Regions from separate parts of the Homo sapiens genome. Here region 1 is linked to region 2. Evidence: promoter capture Hi-C in 16 types of primary human blood cells and fetal thymus (Javierre and others, 2016). All regions are on one chromosome and are shown on one strand. The core of a region is centred on a gene start or on the middle of the fragment in contact, and the rest is flanking DNA. Distances in the headings are between cores, read along the strand shown. Region 1 holds the start of LOC124902380 (a long non-coding RNA gene). Region 2 holds the start of FAM107B (family with sequence similarity 107 member B).

What was found. The method cuts DNA at HindIII sites, captures the fragments that hold promoters and counts their contacts. A CHiCAGO score of 5 or more calls a contact.
Region 1: a fragment that was not itself captured here is called in contact with the fragment with the promoter of FAM107B in region 2 in 1 of 17 cell types (neutrophils); the score reaches 5.5 in neutrophils.

What each region holds. Positions count from the first base shown.
Region 1 is chr10:14,486,897-14,492,205 of GRCh38, reverse strand. LOC124902380 (a long non-coding RNA gene) reads right to left here and starts at 4,936. Exons shown (of 2, transcript XR_007062062.1): 1 at 4,810-4,936; 2 at 3,731-4,500. The HindIII fragment of the contact is 1,593 bases long and covers 2,390-3,982 here.
Region 2 is chr10:14,773,271-14,778,863 of GRCh38, reverse strand. FAM107B (family with sequence similarity 107 member B) reads left to right here and starts at 3,967. Exons shown (of 5, transcript NM_031453.4): 1 at 3,967-4,611. The coding sequence starts at 4,201. The HindIII fragment of the contact is 2,997 bases long and covers 2,672-5,593 here.

The DNA.
Region 1 (5,309 bases), core at 1,937-4,436, 290 kb after region 2:
TGTCAGTTTCTATGTATGTTGCGTGCATGTGTGTGTGTGTGTGCGCGCATGCGTGTGTGTGTGTGTGTGTGTGTGTGTGTGTGTGGTCATTCCCTGATCCTAGAGGCCTCTCTTTGGCCAGCAACAGCACATTAATCCTTCTCATGCTTTGGATCTCTCTGACTTGTCATTCAGTGACTAGCAAACCCTATGATTCATGTTATAAGTAGGAAGTAAAAGGTTGGTCATCAAGGAAGTGGAGACTGAAACATCTGGAAAAGAGAAGGAAGCCAGGGACTAGTTCAAAGAATCGAACCAGGGGGTTTTCACAAGAGGATGGTTTTGAAAGAAAGGATCTCTACTTTCATCTCAGAGAGATGCCTTTCCCTCTACTCTATAATGGCATCCTGGTGATCAACTAGTGTTCCCCATGGGGTATAATGAATGCCAATACACAGTGAAGTAAATACAATTTTACTTTCCAAGAGACAAGGGTAAGACAACTAGGTGCATGAATATTGCAGCAAAAGGATTTAGATAAGATTTTCTTTACCTATGAGTTTTAAAAATCAATATCACTGGCAACAGTTGTGATAAATCTGTAGAAGATTTACTGGAGTTACCATGTTTGTCAATGTAAACCCAAGACACCCTCATCTTCATCTTCTTGTACCGGTCCCCTAGCATGAGGCTAAGAGATCACAAATATCTCCTTATAGGAAATTCCCATTTGGAATTCCCTTGAAAAACCCCATTCCCATAAAAGCTAAACAAATGGGGGTGAAGTGGAGGATAACCCACGCATATCAAATTACTTTTCACTTTCACTTTATCAGTGCTAATTTCTTTTGGCCCTAAGCTCACTTTTCACATCTGATTTAAATGTTTAAACTATGTTTCTGCTTTGGAGAGCTAGGAGACATTGGAGTGTGCCCACTGTAAGTTGGAATGTCCTTTGTTCTTGGAGACGGTACTTTAGGATGCTCCTGCCAGAAATTTGGAAGAAAGGCCTTTGGACCATTTGATGAGGTAGAATCTATGCAGCCATGTCCTAGTCCAATCAGCTTTCCCTGTAAAGGATTTTATTATTGTTTTAATAGGAAGAATGTGTTCTTTGAAAAGAGCATCACGTGAGGAAAATGATAAACATCGAGTAAGAAAAATTTAAATTCTTTCAAATCAAAGACTTTATCATTTAAGTCCCTCCTCCCTCCCAAGTCACTGGTCATGCCTCATGCATTTTGCAGCCCCAGTGCCTGGCATGGTGCTCAGCCATAGCCTCTAGCAGGGGCTCACTGAATCCTGTTGAATGAGACAAATGTGAGGGCAAGTGTCCAGGCTTTGATTATTGGTTTGCCCCAACCACACTTTCAGAATCCCTGAATGAAGAGACTTTTTCTTTAGCTTGCTAATTTGTGAATTTTGAGTGGAAAAAAGTAACAAAAGCACAAAGCAATAAAGTCATAAATAACCTTAGAATTGAGTTAGTTGAGATTAAGACCTTAAAGGCTCAAGGTTCTGTTGGCATTGAAATGAAAAGCTGTTGTGCTAATTAACGTGAAATAGCACATTATACATATCATTATTAAAGTGAAATGTGCATACTGTATAACAGGTGAGTTTGGACAGCTGTAAAGGTAATTAAAACAGATGTCCTGCATCATTAGGCTTCAAACACCTGCATTAGATCTGAAGGAGGTACTAGGAGCACCTCCCATGATGGCTGTAGAAACAAATTTTTGTGTCATGAGTATAGAAGAAAAACAGTATCTGTTCATGGAGGACACTCCTTGTGTTTTCCCAAACACAGATTTCCATAAAATATAAACCACAAGAACAAGGATTTAAAGCAATGTGCAGCCAGTGAGAAATATTTTTTCCCTTTTCCTTTTTGTTTAGCTGTTTATTAAATTGAATAATTCTGAAGCCCGTCTTCCCACACTCCAGGCATACCATTTGGGGACAGGCAGGCACAGATATATGCCTCGGAAGCCCAGGAGGTTGAGAGCCTGGATAATTTTTCCTGATGAGGGTTGCAGCTCTTCCTGGGTTGCTTGAGAACTTCCTTGGCTTCTGAAACATCCAAGTGCCCCGGGAATTAACATCTTTGCCTCCTCATGAACCCATCAAACCAAGATCCAATTGCATCAGCAAGTGTACTTCTTACTGTGTATAGGTAGTAACTCTTCTTTCCTTTCCTTTCTTTTCCTTTCTTTCCTTCCTTTCCTTCCCTCCCTCCTTCCCTTCCTCTTCCTTTCCTTTCCTTTTCCTTCCTTCCCTCCCTCCCTCCCTCCTTCCCTCCTTCCTTCCTTCCTTCCTTCCCTCCTTCTCTTTCCTTTTCCTTTGTCCTTTAATTCTTTCTTCTGCTCTTGTTTTGATTTATAAAGACAAGAGTGTTGTGGCTGAAGCTTCTGTGGCCTTCACACTTGATTCTACAAGAATTTGCTAAAAACCCCATAGCAGCCTAGAAAATCATCAATCATCTTTTGGATGACATGTGTCAGGCCACTGTTCCCTCTTTTACTGGAAAAGAGGCTTTCAGCCAGCCAAAGGGTCAGGGAGCAAAGCAGAGTGACTATGACATGCAATTGCCTTCCAATCTGGAAAGAAATGCCATGTGCCACAGAGGCAGTGGGAGATCCTGGCTTTCCAGCTATACAGGGCAGGTGTGAAATCCTGTCTCATCTGTGCATTCACTTAAAAAACAGTCGATTGCATACTGTCAACTTAAAAATCACCCAATCTATACATTTGGAAAGGAGATCTTATTTATTATAAAGGGTTATAGCCTGCAAGGTGGTCATCTTGACTGGCTGGGAAGCACAGCCTAATATGCTATTCAGTGGAAATAGCGTATAAGACTGAAAAATAATATTATCAACCCCAAGGCAAGCACTTGGAGGAAATGAAACAGGAATTTATGTTGAATGGGTTGGTCTACAGATTACAGGAAAAGCTAAGCATTATCACAAAGTGAGGGCACATGCATGATAAGCAAACATGCACGTTACATGTATTCCATGTTCACTTTGGGGCAGAGACTTAACATTTAAGTGTATTCAAGTTAGACCCTATACATCAAAAGGTGAAGCAGGGACACCAAGATCCAATTGCATCAGTGAGTGGACTTCTTACTGTGTATAGGTAGTAAACCTTTCCCTCCCTCCCTCCCTCCCTCCCTTCTTTCCTTCCTTCCTTCCCTCCTCCCTAGCTTCCCTCTGGCACTGAGTGCACAGCCTCTGTAAACTGGCCACAACCAGTCTACGGTCAGCAGCCTCTGATCAGGACAAAGTTACTGAAATCAGTCTCTTCTCCAATCAAAGCTGTAGTGATGGCTGGTGGGATGGGGGTCAGTTAATCAGCATCTGGAAGTACACGAGCTGCAAATTTTTTTTTTTTTAGATGGAGTCTCGCTCTTGTTGCCCAGGCAGGAGTGCAGTGGCGCGATCTTGGCTCACTGCAGCCTCTGCCTCCTGGGTTCCAGCGACTCTCCTGCCTCAGCCTCCTGGGTAGCTGGGATTACAGGTGCCCGCCACCACGCCTGGCTAATTTTTGTATTTTTAGTAGAGACGGGGTTTTGCCATGTTGACCAGGCTGGTCTCGAGCTCCTGACCTCAGGCGATCTGCCCGCCTCTGCCTCCCAAAGTGCTGGGATTACAGGTGTGAGCCACTGCACCTGGCTGCAATTGTTTTCATATTGCTTATGTCAAGGCCAGTGTTTGTTTAGCTGCTAGAGAAAAATGAAACCTTGTGGCCGTTAGAACATAGTTTATTCTTTTAAAGTGTAGGGTGTGTGGCTTAACCCTTGCCTGGCAAGGCTTTAGGTCCTGTTCATAATTTGGTATCTTATGGCCACAAAGCATCCGTATCCCATCAGTCTGATGATTTCTATTTTAACATGAATGCTGGTCAGTTGTTGTAGCTAAACCACAAAAGGGAAGGGGTATGACAAGATGTGTCTGACCTCCTCTTCCGTCATGGCCAGGAACTTCGTTTTTAAGCTTTTTCTGAGATTCCCTTAGCCAGAAGCGGGTCCATTCACTTGATTGGAGGTCTCTTGTTTTCTTACAGTGTCAAAACTTGACTAGTTGTTTATAAGAAAACATGGAACTGTGGTCATTCTCCAGTTCTCGGTACTATGGGCCAAGTCCTGTTATAGGCACTGGTGAGGTATCAGTAGATACACCAAGTTTACTGTCATCATCACAGAGCTTGCTAACTAGTAGAGGCAGCTAGATAATAGACAAAGTGAGTACATTACTATATTTTGTTGATTCTTAGAAGCATGATGTTTCACATTAGCAACTTTGAAACTGGGGTGCATTCTATAATCGCTGGCATCTTATCATTGCTGCTGGCCGGGCAGCTGCCTTTAAGGAATTGCCATTTCCCCCGAAGTTGCAAACCTGAGAAAAGCTGCTCATAGTGTTCCTGCTTCAGCTCAGCTGGGCTCTTTGCCAGTACTATGCGTAAAGGATTTATTTTGCCATTCAAATGTCTTCAAAAAGATTCCACGATGATCTGAAATTGAAACAAAAGGTTATTGTGTACATGGAGAGGCATGGAAACCCAAAAGCAAGTATTCATCTTTGGGAGAGTGACCACAATTCCGTGTTTCCTTATAAACAACCAGTCATGTTTTGACACTGTAAGAAAAGAAGATACCCGCAAGAGGGTGAAGCTTTGTCATGTCTTACTACTGAGCTATGTTTGCAAAAGGACTGCCTATCACATGCAAAGGTTTTCAAGGCATGAGAAGTCTCTTAAAATCTCCAAATTAGTAAAAAAAAAAAAAATTGGTGAGGTGTTGAGGTAAGAGGCAGGACTCACCTCCAGAGGTGGAGCTCGGACACCAGATCAGATTGAGGACTAGCTGAAACAGGGCCAGGATGAAAGCAGCATTCAATCAGACCCACCCACCAGTGTACCAGGTCAATTTACTGTTGCCATGGCAACACTCGGGAGGTACTGCCTCTTTCCACGGCACCCAACCATCCAAAAGTTACTACCCCTCCCGTGCATAAACCACTCCTTAATCTGCATGCAGCTAAACGTGTGTATAAATATGGCTGCAAAATTGCCCTGCCCTGAGCTGCTACTCTCTGCCTACTGGGTAGCCCTGCTCTGCGGGGGCAGTCACAGAGTTGTAACGCTAAGACTGTTTTCTTTTACTTTTGGCTTGCCCTTGAATTCTTTCCTGGGCAAAGCCAAGAAGCCTTGTGGGCTAAGCTCCATGATGGGGCTCAGCTGCCCCGCATCAGTGTGACCTAATGTCAAGGCCATGACTCAGTTAGCCGCCCTTCTCTTTTGTTGACATAAAACGTAATAGT
Region 2 (5,593 bases), core at 2,718-5,217:
TAGTTACACCAAGGTTAACAACTGTTTGTCATAAGCCCCTGTAGCAGAGTACATCTCCCTCATGATTTTGGGCTTATATATAATATGAACAAGCATTGCACCTAAGGTGTTTCCTCCTCTTGCTTTCAGGAGTGCCCTGCTCTGCCTGTGGAGCAGCCGTTCTTTCAGTCCTCGACTTTCTTAATAAACTTGCTTTCACTTTTCTCTGTGGACTTGCCCCGAACTCTTGTGCAAGATCCAAGAACCCTCCCTTGGGGTCTGGATCAGTACCCCACTCCTTTCCGGTAACAGTTCTTCTCATATGTCTTGTGATGCTTTGTGATCTCTTTGCGTTTTTTAAATTTTTTATTTTTAAGACAGAGTCTTAAAATATGATGGTGCACAAGACATTTTTGAAGGCTTGGAGGTCACAGGAAGGGATTTAAGAAAAGAAAAATCCATTCTTACACCTGATTTCATTCACTCATTCATTTATTCATTCAATTATGTGCCAAGCCCCTTCTGGAGAGAATCAGCTGTTCACAGTGCAGCTTGCGAGGGGCTGCCACCCAGGCTCTGGAGTGCAGTGGGGCAATCTCGGTTCACTGCAACCTCCACCTCCTGGGCTCAAGCGATCCTCCCACTTCAGCCTCTCAAGTAGCTGGGACTTAAGACACTCACCACCATGCCCAACTGATTTTTAAAACTTTTTTTTTGTAGACACGGTGGCTCACTATGTTGCCCAGACGGGCCTTGAACTCTCCTGGCCTCAAAGGGCCCTCCCACCTAGGCCTCCCAAAGTGTTGGGATTACAGGCATGAGCCATCACGCCCAGCCAGATGTTTTCTTATATATGAACTTGTCTTCTATTGATTAACAATTAATTTTGTGATTACAAACTCTGGTGCTGCGAACATTCTGGGACATACATTTATGCACAAGTATATCTACAGAATAAATTCTTTTTTAAAAAAATTATTATACCTTAAGTTCTAGGGTACATGTGCACAACGTGCAGGTTTGTTACATAGGTATACATGTGCCGTGTTGGTTTGCTGCACCCATCAGCTCGTCATTTACGTTAGGTATTTCTCCTGATGCTATCCCTCCCTCAGCCCCCACCCCCTGACAGGCCCTGCTATGTGATGTTCCCCTCCCTGTGTCCATGTGTTCTCATTGTTCAACTCCCACTTATGAGTGAGAGCATACGGTGTTTGGTTTTCTGTCCTTGTGATATTTTGCTGAGAATGATGGTTTCCAGCTTTACCCATGTCCATGTAAAGGACATGAACTCATCCTTTTTTATGGCTGCATAGTATTCCATGGTATATATGTGCCACATTTTCTTTATCCAGTCTATTGTTGGTGGACATATGGGTTGGTTCCAAGTCTTTGCTATTGTGAATAGTGCCACAATAAACATACGTGTGCATGTGCCTTTATAGTAGCATGATTTATAATCCTTTGGGTATATACCCAGTAATGGGATGGCTGGGTCAAATGGTATTTCTAGTTCTAGATCCTTGAGGAATCTCTACACTGTCTTTCACAATGGTTGAACTAATTTACACTCCCACCAACAGTGTAAAAGTGTTCCTATTTCTCCACATCCTCTCCAGCATCTGTTGTTTCCTGACTTTTTAAAGATCGTCATTACAAAATAACTTCTTAGAGGTAGAGTGTTGGATCAAGGTCATTGGAAATGTCCTCTCTGGAGTATGTATCTGTGTGTGTGCACGTGCATGTGTGTTTTTGGAAAGCAGGATTGCATACTGAGAAAAGTATGAGCTCTGGGGCCAGGTTGCTGGACTCATCACCTTTTCTCATTTCCTTAAGCAGTGCTGTGACCTTGGGCAAGTTACTTAAGTTTCTGTGTCTTGGTTTTCTAATGAGTAAAAATGGGAATAATAATATCACCTTTCTTCTAGGGTTGTGAGGATTAAATGAGTTAATTTGCTGAGATTCATGTCTGATACCAAACACTCAATAACCATGGCCTGTTACTGAGTGTTATTCTAGGTCAGACTTAGCAACACACTAATCAGAAAGTCTACTGTTCTTAGCGGGCCAGTGCTGGAACTCCGATGAGTTCATGCGTGCCTCTGAGCACACCCACTGAGCGAGGAGAGGTGGTCCTCAGAGCCCGGATGCAAGCCCAGGGCCTCCGCAGACCTAGAAAGTGGCTCTGAGCTTTCTTCCTCAGCGGTCTCCTGAATGTGGCCGCTCGCAAGCTGCACTGTGAACTGCTGACTCTCTGTTCCAAAAGGGGCTTGACACATAATTGAATGAATATATGAATGAGTGAATGAAACCAGGTGTAAGAGTGCATTTTTCTTTTCTTAAATCCCTTCCTGTTACCTCCAAGCCTTCAAAAATGTCTTATGCAGCATCACAGCCCCGATTTACTATACGTGTGCTTGGAGGGGCACAGCATGGCACGACCCGACCCGAGTGGACTGTAGCAACCAAGTCAAATGGGAGACAAAGTGCAGTTCCGAGGGGTCTCCAGGAATATCTGGGAGGGGGGACCCTGGTAGAAACCTGAACCCCCTGATTTCTTATGGGTGGGGAATTTGGACAGCTTGCACTTGGGACACAATGAAAAAAGAATGAGCTCACAACCCTGGGAAGCCAGAAACAGCTTGGATAGCACGGGGCCTGCCACACGGTAACCTCTAAATAAATGGAAGCTTTCTATATTCTAACTTTCAGTAGAGACTAAAATAAAATGTGCATTTGATGCCATATCCACTCATTCTAAAGCCATATCTGCCTTTTTGTATTATGAATATGACTGTCCATTTAGAACAATATTTCCCGTATGGCCATTACATCTATAAAATGATTGTTAGATAGAATGAGACTCAGAGGACAGATAGGAGAACAGGGATCTCGGGCACCCAACAAGCCCTTCTTAGTGGCATAAACTTGCCTTAGTCACATGAAATTTCAAAGAATTGGTTTCTGCCTCTGTAAAACGGGAATCAGTGCCATAATATAATAACTACCACCTGTCTGGGCCAAAGAGCACATCTTGACATTAAATTAAAAGAGAGAGCAAACAAATTAATTAAGAGTGGGTAACATGCCCAGAAATCTTGACCCTAAAATCACTATTAACGGTAAAAGCATTACAGTATTACATTTCTATAACATTCCTAGCAGACAGTTGGCTAAGGAAAAATCTTGATTCTGAATTGTCTTAGAATATGTTTATAATTTATTATTTTTCACCATTCACATATTAATGTGTTGAGAAACAGAAGATCTATGTTCAAAAAGGAGTTACTTTCTGAAAGTAGGTGATATATACCATATAGGTAGAATACTTCACATGTACATAATACCTCCACACATAATAACATAATACATAAGGATAATTGTTAATGTAGGGCTCTCTTTTTTCTTTTTGGTATTGTTGAAAACTAATCAAGAACTTAGCCTAGCTAGTAAAAAAAAAAAAATCAAATTACCAAAGACCTATTTATAGTTATCAGAAAAGGCAATGTGGATCCTGAAACCAGGAAACTTGTTTTGAGGGTGGGGGGAAGATTCCGGGAAGATTCCGGAAAGATCCCGAAAAGTCCAGAAAGATTCAGAAAACACATCACACCGCATCTCTCCAGGCGAAAGATTGAGTCTACCTCCTATTTTAATAATGAAACAGCTGCTAGGGTCGTGGCCCTTCTAGGGGTCTTCATTTGTGATGGACAACTGGGTCGTTTTTGTTTTGTTTGGGGGAATAAATATTTGAAGGGGGGTAACCAAAGAAGGTTTTGCTGCTGTTATGATGTTATTGATACGCAGGCTGACGCTATTATGGCAGATGCTATCAGGCTACATTATCTTTATGCCTCCTAGGTAACCTGAAGCAATTGTCTATTGACTTGGCACTACCCTACCCTGAAGCGTCTGCCCTGCCTAGGAACTGTAACCGGAGCCACTCACATGCCTCCCCAACAGCTTTCTTTAGCCACTGACAGCATCACAGAAGGAAGAGCGCGAAATTGCCCAGGATGGACACTTTCAAAGGGGCCCCAGCGGCTAAGTGACTCTCAGGGAAGGTGGCCTTGCCATCCCAACTTCTATTTAGGGGCAACCACTAGCAAGTTCTTCTCTTCGGGCAATTGGAAAGAGTTCCTATAAGCAAAGTGGAGGTGATGTGGACCCCTGGAAAATTTCCTTGCCCCGTTTGAACTTTGCAATGATTCACTGCAAGTCATGTCCACGTGGAAAGCAAGACTCACCAAAAGACTGAAGTCTCCCTCTAGAAGCATGCATCCATTTCCGTGCTCAGCTCTGCTCGCCTGTTTTGGGAATACGAGGGAGAGTGCTTCCTTCAATCAGTCCGGCGTGGCTGATACTCATTCCACCGTCCGTGTGCAGCCTGTGGCCAAAGCAGGCAGACAGCCAAGACACCCAAGCGCAGAAGGAGCTCCAGAGAAAAGGCAAGATTCGAGCACCCATGCAGAGAGAAATGGCAGTGCGAATCGGAATTCAAGTCACCGCACTGCGGCCCAGCCCGCGGAGACGCCTGAAGATGTGCCCGGGTCCCTGGATGATGGGGCGGACTGTGAAGCAGTGGTGTTTCACGCTTCCATCCCCAGACCATCAATTATTGACACGCCCAAGGTGAGTGAGTGTTCGCTCTGCGATTATAGACGGGATGGAGCTGGAGGAGCGTTGGGATCATGTGGCGAATGTTTCAGCAAACAAACTCATTTAACCTTACTGAATAAGGCATTGCGGGCGTTCTCACTAGTGCGAAGAAGTGTGTTAAAGCCGTGTAGATTCTCAGAGTGTTCTCAAAAGATGTGGATGAGGCAATGATAATAAGCACTGGAGCCATGGCAATGACCGAAGGTAACCTTGAATTAACGGGCTAGGGTGCCTTAGAGCCAAAAATGGCTCACTCAATAACAGATTAGGAGTAAGATAGTTTACAAAAACATTTTTTTCCTTTTTCTATTTCCCCCTCCACCCCCACCGGTCTGTCAATTTATTTATATGAAAATCCACAATCTAAAAAGTTTGGCTAGGGAATTCACAAAACTGCCTCTACTTAAAATGAATCACATGATATCAAAGCAGTCTGGAAAAATTTGGAAATGATCATCAGTGTATGCCTAGTGGTACGGAAGGGAACTGACCTATAAAACTATTCATAATATGGATGTTTTTGTGATAATCTTCTGAGAGTTGAAGGCAGGAGGAGGAAGTTATTTAAAAAAAATGGTGCCACTGCTCTTAAGAGTTATTTACTTATTTTCTTTCCATTTTTGGCATCAGTGAATTTTAATTGTTGAGTATTCTGATTAGATGGAGCTGTACAATTATTTCAAAGTTCCCGGTAATCCCAGTTTGCAGATGCAGTGTAGAGGAAAGGTTTTCTAAAAGGTACACTCCAAAGATATCTCTTGACCATTTTTGGTCATTTCCTAGCCAAGTAGCTTAGGACCAGACTTAAAAAACTGAGAAGTCTTTGGGGATCCATCACTAAAGTATTCTGATTTTTTAAATCATTTTTCCACATCCGTTTAACAAATTATTTTTTGGTCTGGCTTGCTTCACAGAATCTAAGAAGCCTCCTTAGCAAGAACACAGCCAACCAGCA